Regions from separate parts of the Homo sapiens genome. Here region 2 is linked to region 1. Evidence: promoter capture Hi-C in 16 types of primary human blood cells and fetal thymus (Javierre and others, 2016). All regions are on one chromosome and are shown on one strand. The core of a region is centred on a gene start or on the middle of the fragment in contact, and the rest is flanking DNA. Distances in the headings are between cores, read along the strand shown. Region 1 holds the start of OPN4 (opsin 4). Region 2 overlaps BMPR1A (bone morphogenetic protein receptor type 1A).

Region 1 (4,712 bases), core at 624-3,123:
TGCCTAGCCTCAACAGTGCCCTGGCCAGAGCTAGAGTCAACATTCCTGCCTGCATTTTCTTCCCTGTCTGCATGGCTGCCACCCTCAGTGCCCTGGGCCCAGCACCACCAACCAGGCACCTGCAGAAGGTATAGATGACCGTCAGGTTGCCCAGCATCCCCGTGAGTCCCACCAGCAAGATCACTGTGCCCAGGGTATAGTGGGCATGGTCTGGAACATCAACCGTGGGGAGGGGGACCCAGGCAGCAGCCCAAGTCCCAGGTGCCTGCGGAGAGACAGAGAAACGAGGGAATCATGTTATCGCTTGTCACCTTCAAATAGTCCTGAGAAGGAAGAGTTAGGATTCTCAACAGGGCAGGTGGGAAAACTGAGGCTCAGAGTGGCAAAGCCAGTTGCACACACAGCTCACAAGTGGCCAAAAGCAGAAGGGAAGTGCAGGTCCTTTCTAAAGTCCAGCCCAAGCTCCTAGAACATGGCACAGGGGCCTTCTAGGAGTGGGCTCAGATCACCTGCTGGAGGCTGGTAGGACAGACAGACATGTGACTGGCAAGCAGGGACATGGCCCTGGTCACCCTATCTTTCCTTAGGGAGAAGACAGAGCCAACTCCTGGGTGCATCCCTGCCTGCAGTATGGACTCCAGCCCAAGGGCCCAAGACAGTTTTTGAGGCCTCTAGACGCTGGGGTGGTGAGTCGGGTGGAGCCCCTCTCAAGAGTCCCGTCCCCTACTGAGCCTTAGAGGAGAAGCTGCATTGCCCAATAGCATAGCTGGGTACAGCTAACCTTGATGCCTGGCATGAAAATGAAGGGAATTCCCTTTAGAAAGAAAGCTTAGGCCTCCCAGGGTCACTGAAGGGAGGTCATGACCATATCAGGTCAGGACAAAGGGATTTAAAGACTCCTCCCACCCTAACCCCTTTCTGGGGAAGAGAGGGTGGCTTGGTCTCTGTCCTGCCGCAGTGGCCCCTATAGCTACCGGAGCCTTCCCATCCTGTCCAGCACCTGGGCCAGCATCCCCAGGTCCTGAGGGTGCCCTCGGCCTTCCCCAGGTAGCAGTGGTGTTGATGGAATATGGCCCTGGGCCTGGGCTAGGATGATGGAGGTGGCAGAAGGCACCCAAGGCTTCACTGTGGGCTTGGCAGATCCAGAGGCCCAGGGTGTGCCCTCCTCCCTGGAGGGCTCCATGGGGCATCCGAGCAACCTCTGAAAGGAATGAGTGCAGCCAAGGACAGGTCTGGCCATTCCAGCCCCTTGTCCTCAGGGCTGGCATTTCTGTTCCTTGAATGCTCTCCATGAGGAAGGACATTGCCTGCACCCTCCTCTATCAGCCTGTTTATCAGGGGCGGGCTCAGAGAGGTCCAGTAATGGCTCAAGGCCCCACAGCAGAGTTCAGACCTTTTCTATCTCCCTGTCAAAGCCCCTGTGTGTGGCCAGGAGGGGACCAGGAAGGGGTCAGGGAAGGCTCTGTGCATGCACATGCTCGCCCAGGCTTACTGTGGGACTGATGGATGGAAGCCGGCCCAGGCTGGAGATGCTGCTCTGGGAGCTGTCCCACCAGCTGGGTGGTGCTGGGGTGGCCATGCAGCTGGGCTCTTGGGTTGGGCTGGGCGGGACTCTTGGCCCCGAAGGAGGGTTCATCCTGAGTTGGGATGGTCCTTGCTCGAGCCCACAGAGAAGTCAAGGGCACAGGGAGCTCAGGACTTCAGCTGTGCTCAGCCTCCCAACTTTCCTCCATCCTCAGCACCCCTGCTTAGCCTACCCGCTGCTTTCTCCTGTGTCCGGCGCAGATCCAGCCTGGAGCTGCTCTTGGGGCTGGCGGTTGCTCTGTGTCTGGTGAAGCGCAAATGAGTGAGTGTCGCAGTTATGGTGACTCACAGCCACAGAGTTCATCCCCATCTTTATATAGCGATGTGGGAGCTGCACATGCTCAGTCGCTCCATGCCGCCAGCTCACTCAGACCAAGGTCTCTGGGTGTCTATCTACGAAGGTCTGATGATGGTGGCGTGAATGTGTATGTGTGAGTGTGTGTGTGTGTGTGTGTGTGTTTCAAGGGAGACTTCTGGAATGATGGTGGCATGAATGTGTGTGTGAGTGTGTGTGTTTCAAGGGAGATTTCTGGATGATGGTGGTGTGAATGTGAGTGTGTGTGAGTGTGTGTGTGTGAGTGTGTGAAAGTGTGTGTTTCAAAGGAGACTTCTGGGATGATGGCGTAAATGTGTATGTGAGTGTGTATGTGTTTCAAGGGAGATTTCTGGGATGGTGTCATGAATGTGTGCGTGTGTGTGTGTGTGTGTGTGAGGGTTCGTGAGTGTGTGTGTTTCAAGGAAGATTTCTGGGATGGTGTTGGGAATGTGTGTGAGTGTGTGTGTGTGTGAGTGTGTATGTGTTTCAAGGGAGATTTCTGGGATGATGGTGGTGTGAATGTGTATGTGTGTGAGTGTGTGTGTTTCAAGGGAGATTTCTGAGCTGACAGTGGTGTCAATGTGTGAGTGTGTGTGCATGTGAGTGTGTGTGAGTGTGAGTGAGTGAGAGCATGTGTGTGTGTGAGAGTGTGTGTGAGAGTGTGTGTTTCAAGGGAGATTCCTGGGCTCGGGCTCTTGGACATTGGGCAGAAGGCTGTGTCCTCTCCTTTGACCAGTCTCTGTTGTGTTTCTTCCCTGAGCTCATCAAGAGCAGCCTCAGCCATCCCAAGAGCCCCCAGAGCTGTTTGTGGGCAGCTGAGCCTGTGCAGCCCAGCCTCACCCTTGTCACAGTGGGCCCTACCACCATGTTTGGCCCCCATGAGCCATGGCATTTTCACAGTCACCCTGCATAGAACCAAGGCTGGTCACCCTTTCACAGATGGAGACACAAGGAGGATGTAGCAGTAGGGTGAGATCAGATCACGAGGCGGCTTTTGCTTGTTTTTTGATAAGAAAGTTTTATTTTTTTATTTTTATTTTTTTTGAGACAGTCTTGCTCTGTCACCCAGCCTGGAGTGCAATGGTGCAATCTCAGCTCACTGCAACTTCCGCCTCCCAGGTCCAAGCAATTCTCCTGCCTCAGCCTCCCGAGTAGCTGGGATTACAGGCACTCGCCACCACACCTGGCTAATTTTTGTATATTTAGCAGAGGCAGGAGTTCACCATGTTGGCCAGGCTAGTCTCGAACTCCTGACCTCAGGTGATCCACCCACCTCGGCTTCCCAAAGTGCCAGGATTACAGGCGTGAGCCACTGGGCCCGGCAGAAATTTTTAAAGTATAAAGATTTTTTAAAACCTTATTGGGAGAGTCCCAGGAACTCACCCAGGCCTGCAGGCCTGATCCAAGTTGACTGGATGTCAGAAGTGGAGGGGACCCCGGGCCTGCCCCTTGCCCTGTCTTAGAGGAGGCAGCAGGAGCTGGAGAGAAGGGAAGCTGAACACACGGCTTCCAGGGAGGGCTGCTCGGGCTAGGCCTGCCACAGAGGCTGCGTTTAGGGGAGCCCGACCGGGCAGCGGTCATCCTAAGTGGGGGCCATGTCCTGGCACAGTGCTGGGAGTGTTGGAGCCCTGGAGTGGACAGAGATATCACTCCTCTTCCAGAAGTTCCCCCAGTCTTTACAAACAGTTCTCCTGGAGCCCCAGGTTTGAGCAGGAGAAGTGGGAGCAGCCTCACTGGGAGCGGGAGCTGTACTTCCTGCAGCTGCCAGCCCATGGCTCAGACTGCCTTCCTCCTGAGGCTCTTCCACTTCAGGGCTTTGGCTCACAGAGGCCACCCTGGGGGCAGGGTGAGGCTGAGGGGCCGGCTTTTCTTTCTGTCCCTAGGCTCAATGCCAGCTGCTTGCGTTTTAATGTAGGGGTTTAACAATTCCTCACAGCTGGGAGCAATTCTGAGTCAACACAACGTCCCATTCAATGTGGACCCCACTCTCCAACCTGCTAATTAAGAGAGGGTGCAGGTGATGGAGCAGGCACAGGAGTCCAGGGGAGAAGTGCTTGTCAGGTGGACACATGAGGCGGGAATCCACATACCCAGGGTGCCACAGGCCTCAAAGGAGCACCTCAGGGAAAGATCAGAGGACTCGGAACCCCCAGCCTGGGGCCTTTGGAAGCCCACGTCTCACCTGACAATGTCCTTTCTCCATGGGCCGTGCACTGCAGCCGTTGCGGGTGACACTGAGATCTCCTCAGGGCCCAACCCCCTCACTCCTGTGCTTCTGTCCCACTGGGGAGGCTCCCCATGGCGCTCTTGCTCCAAACCTTTGCATCCCACACCCACCTGGCAGCTCGTCTGCCCGGAGCCTGCCATCCAATGGAGCCAGGAGGGCCGCGTGGGAAGCCTCAGCCTCCAGATGTCTCCTATGACTACTGCTGCCCAAGCTGTCCTGGCTGGAAGCTGTGGTCTGATGGGTGGGAACCCTGACCTTCCATCACTCCCCTCCGACCAGGTGGCTCCTGTCTTCCTGGGTGCCTGGCTGTGCTCACCTTCCCTCAGCACTTCTCCTCCTCCTCTGCAAGCTTGGCTCAGGGTGGGGCCCGGCCTCTTGAGACCTGGGATTGTTGATGGTCTCATGGGCCTGTGCCATCCAAGAATCTCAACGCAGGGAAAAGTGTGGAAGGGGTCCTCAGAGTCCTCCCAGTCCCAACTCTGGCTGGTGCCCACTCCCTTGGAGACTGTCCTGGGCATCTCCTCCTCCCCCGGTGCCATTCCCGGGGGCAGGCTGACCTCAGTGCTTGGTGCCGGGTTTGCCGAT
Region 2 (4,643 bases), core at 1-2,500, 260 kb before region 1:
AAGAATGAAGTAGATTTACATCAGCTGAAATGGAAGGATGGCTAAGACTATATGGCACACACCTGTAATCCCAGCACTTTGGGAGGATCAGCTGAGCCTAGGAGTTTGAGACCAGCCTAGGCAACACAGTGAGACCCCATCTCCGCAAAAAATAAAAACATTAGCTAGGTGTGGCAGTGCATGCCTGTAGTCCCAGCTACTCAGGAGGCTGAGGTGGGAGGATTGCTTGAGCCCATGAGGTCGAGGTTGCAGTGAGCTAAGATCACACTACTATATTCCAGCCTGGGCAACTGAGTGAGACACTGTCTTTAAAAAAAACAAAAAACAAAAAACAAAAAACAAACAAAAAAAAACACCAAAAAAATATATATATATCAAGAATTATGTATAGGAGAAGTAGGACACAATTTTTGTAAAAAGAACAAAATCCCCCCCAACTATACATTTATGTAACTAAAAACAAGCATATGCACATTTTTAGAATTCCATTATCTTGAATACAAATAGGGAAATATCTTTTGGAAATTAAAATAATTTCAAAACAGTGGGGCAAAGAACCACTCACCTGTTGAATTTAACAGCAAGGCCCAGGTCAGCAATGCAGCAACTCCCATTTTTCTTGATGAGGATGTTTTTGCTCTTTAGGTCTCGATGAGCAATTGCGGGCTTTCCTTGGGTGCCATAAATTTCTGTGTGCAGGTGGCACAGACCACAGGCAGCTGAATAAGCCAATTTAAGCAGGGCTCTGGTGTCCAGTGTAGCACATTTCAGGAAGTCATAGAGAGATCCATTTTCATGGTAATCAGTAATCAAATAGAGCTGAGTCCAGGAACCTGTACCTTTAATGTCTGCCGCTATGAAACCTGTCCAGTTGATGAGTTTAAAAGGTTAGTTATCATCAGAGATAGGCTAGGGAGAAGTAATGCTCATTCTGGATACTGAGAAAAACTTAGGTATCATGTGCAGATAGTGAAACTTTAATTCGCCTGACACCAAGTCGTGAATGTGTTACTAAAAATTATATTTCTACATTTACACATATATCTGTACTTCTACAATAAATTTATAATAATCTTAATAATCATGAAAGTGAATAGGATTAAGAAAAAGATCATATATGCTGGGTGTGGTGGCTCACACCTGTATCACTTTGGGAGGCCAAGGCAGGAGGATCACTTGAGGTCAGGAGCTCGAGACCAGCCTGGCCAACAGGGCGAAACCCCGTCTCTACTAAAAATACAAAAATTAGTTGGGCATGGTGGCAAGTGCCTGTGGTCCCGGCTACTCTGGAGGCTGAGGCAAGAGAATCACTTGAACCTGGCGGCAGAGGTTGCAGTGAGCCAAGATGGCGCCACTGCACTCCAGCCTGAGCGACAGAATGAGACTCCGTCTCAAAAAAAAAAAAAAGAAAAGAAAAGGAAAGAAAAGAAAAAGATGACATATTATACAAATAACCTGGAGAATATTATCAACCTACATGATTCTCTAGTAGAAAAGGCTCTCAATTTCAAAGCAAAAAGTGGACACTTTTATAAAATTAAGAATGTTCAACTAAGAGTTAGCTCCTAATTAAGCCAACTCCCATTTGCCCATCAGTGACTCATCACAGCTGCCTTTTCAGTCTGGCTCGTTGACTGCCAGGCCCACAGTCCTGCTCTTTTCCTTTCTCTCCTACCCTCTTCCCTCCAGAAAAAGGTCAGTGAGTGCTATGTACTGAGCTGAACAGTGCTCCCCGACAAAATTCATGTCTAAAATCCATGTCATCTATAAACGTGACCTTATTTGGAAAGAGGGTCTTTGCAGATGTAATCAAGTTAAGATGACTCATACAGGATTAGCGTGGGCCCGAATTCAATGGCTGGTGATGTTGTAAGGTGGAAATGTGGACCCAGGCACCCAGGGAGAAGGCCACCTGATGACAGAAATGGAGACTAGAGTGTTGTCTATACTAAGCCAAGGAACACCAAAAATTCCTGGCCACCAACCAGTAGCCAGAGGAGGCAAGGAAGGCTCCTCCTCTAGAGTATTCAGAGACACAACAGCTCTGCCAACACCTTGGTTTTAAACTTCTAGCCTCGAAAACTGAGTGAATACGTTTTGGAGGTTGAAGCCACCCAGTTTGTGGTAATTGATACAGCAGCCCTAGGAAACTAATACAATTGCCTGCTTGGCAACATGCTATGGGCTCTCCAAATTAAAGGGAGGAAAACAAGAGGTGAAGGGAAAAGAAAACTCAGGATAGCCAGATCGGCTTATGTACCTGACTGACCAGCTCACACCTAAATTACTTTGCTATTGTGTAAATGTGGAGATGGGGGGAAACACACATTAAACACAGAACGTACAATGAAACTGCATGTTGGGCTGTTGAGCTTATGAAAGGGAAAAGGCACATATGTTAATGTTACCCTAAATCACTGCTTAAGTTATCTATAAAAGACTGGGTTTTCATTACTATGGGAGTAAGTCCAATAAACTAGTATTATTTTCCATTTGAAACTCACTGCTGTTTCTTCAGCTGGTTAGTAAAGAAAGATCTTGGTTGGCATTCCGGACTATGTTTTATTCAAACCGTGTATTCTACTAGGTTTCCTTTAGCCAAATGTATATAGTTGAACTCACACATTTTCAAAGCACATATGGAGGCTTCCACCTGTACCTCACTAGCCTTGTCAAAAATGAAATTGACTGAATCAGTGTGTACCCACCAAGTATGTTTTCATGGCGCATTAGCACAGTTTGGTAGATTTCTGTTTCTCGAAACCAGCTGGCTTCTTCAGTGGTAAAGAATACTTTCACCGCCACTTTTTCGCCACGCCATTTGCCCATCCATACTTCTCCATATCGGCCTTTACCAACTTGCCGGACCATCTGAATCTGTTTGGCAATAGTTCGCTGAACCTTTATAGAAAAAAGTAAAAGGTTTGAGCTCTTGATGAAAGAAACCCATTAAGACTGGCAAAGGGGTAGTCCATCTCATCAAAAAGCATGGTGTACCCAACCAACTCCAGTTAAAAACTTATAATGTACTTTTTTTTTTTTGAGATGGAGTCTCGCTCTGTCACCCAGGATGGAGTGCAGTGGCGCGATCTCGGCTCACTGCAACCTTCACCTTTTAGATTCAAGTGATTCTCCTGCCTCAGCCTCCCAAGTAGCTGGGATTACAGACACCCGCCACCATGCCCAGCTAATTTTTTTGTATTTTTAGTAGAGATGGGGTTTAGCCACGTTGACCAGGCTGGTCTTGAACTCCTGACCTCAGGTGATCCACCCCACCCCCGGCCTCCCATAATGCTGGGATTACAGGCGTGAGCCACCATGCCCGGCCATAATGTACTTTAAAGTATGAAACAATGTACAATGTATTCTGAAATCATAAACAGGTTATTCAAGTGGCTGGCTGTTTGCAAAAATGGTCATAATAATTACCCTCCCAGTGCACACAGTCGTGGGTAGTCTTGGTCCACAGACTCAGGGCTTAGGCCACATGACTTGCTTTGGATAAAAGAACAACAGCGAACGTGATGCAAGCAAAGACCTGACAAATGTTTGTGGACTGGGGCTTGCCCCCTTCCTGCTGCTTTGGGAACCCTGTGACCAAAAAATAATGGCAGCATGAACTGTCGGCCAAGGGTGTGAACTACACCACCTAGCTCTAGCTAAGCAAGTCCAACAAATGAACTGCCCCACAGACTCACAGAATGAGAAATAATGTTTGTTGCTTCACATCACTAAGTTTTGGGGTGGTTTATTATGCAGCAAAGTCCAAATAACAGTTAAAGATCTTAAAAATCCCATCTATAAGACCCTGCCTGATCTGGCCTGGTCCCATTATTTGCTTTGACCACCCACCCACAAACCTCGTTTGACTTATCTCAACTTTTAGAATTCACTCAAGCTTATTCCTGTCGCTGGGTTTTTTTGAATATCCAGTTCCCTTTACTTAGAGTGCTATTTTCTCACTTAAACACCTTCATAGCACACAAAACCTCTCAGTTGCTGCGCTTAACACAATCATAACTTTATTCTTATTTACATATATATTTGCTTGAATTCCATCCCCTGCTCACAGAATATAAGTATTTATTTGGGACAATATCAGAAGTACTTTAATATTTGTTAAATAAAAGATGTACATGGATTGTTATCTTTCATTTTCAGAAGCATTAGTGATCATTCTAAATTAAAAAGAACATTATGCTCCAAGTTGGAAATGCTTCTAAAATGGACTAGATTTAGTGCAAAGCTAAAGTGACTTTATGTATCATTTATTATAGAATCCTTTTGTAAATTTTGTTCTGTTTTTTTGAGACAGAGTCTCGCTCCGTTGCTCAGGCTGGAGTGCGGCGGCCAATCTCAGCTCACTGCAACTTCTGCCTCCCCAGTTAAAACAATTTCCTGCCTCAGCCTCCCGAGCAGCTGGGATTACAGGCATCTGCCACCACGTCCAGCTAATTTTTGTATTTTTAGTAGAGACAGGGTTTCACCATGTTGGCCAGACTGGTCTCGAACACCTGACCTCAAGTGATCTGCCTGCCTCAGCCTGTAAGTTTTTAAGTCAAGATTATTGAGGTATAATTTATATAAAATGTACCCTTTTTGAGAAAAGTTCAACAAGCCTTGGACAAATCTATATCATGTAA

Evidence for each region. The method cuts DNA at HindIII sites, captures the fragments that hold promoters and counts their contacts. A CHiCAGO score of 5 or more calls a contact.
Region 2: a fragment that was not itself captured here is called in contact with the fragment with the promoter of OPN4 in region 1 in 1 of 17 cell types (M1 macrophages); the score reaches 5.2 in M1 macrophages.

What each region holds. Positions count from the first base shown.
Region 1 is chr10:86,651,708-86,656,419 of GRCh38, reverse strand. It overlaps OPN4 (opsin 4), which reads right to left and starts at 1,873. Exons shown (of 10, transcript NM_033282.4): 1 at 1,493-1,873; 2 at 120-265. The coding sequence starts at 1,636. RefSeq lists an enhancer at 4,056-4,712. The HindIII fragment of the contact is 3,648 bases long and covers 831-4,478 here.
Region 2 is chr10:86,915,392-86,920,034 of GRCh38, reverse strand. BMPR1A (bone morphogenetic protein receptor type 1A) reads right to left here. Exons shown (of 13, transcript NM_004329.3): 9 at 2,709-2,901; 10 at 566-863. Among named protein-coding and RNA genes, the nearest start is that of MMRN2, 40 kb to the left of the region's middle. The HindIII fragment of the contact is 5,300 bases long and covers 1-3,900 here.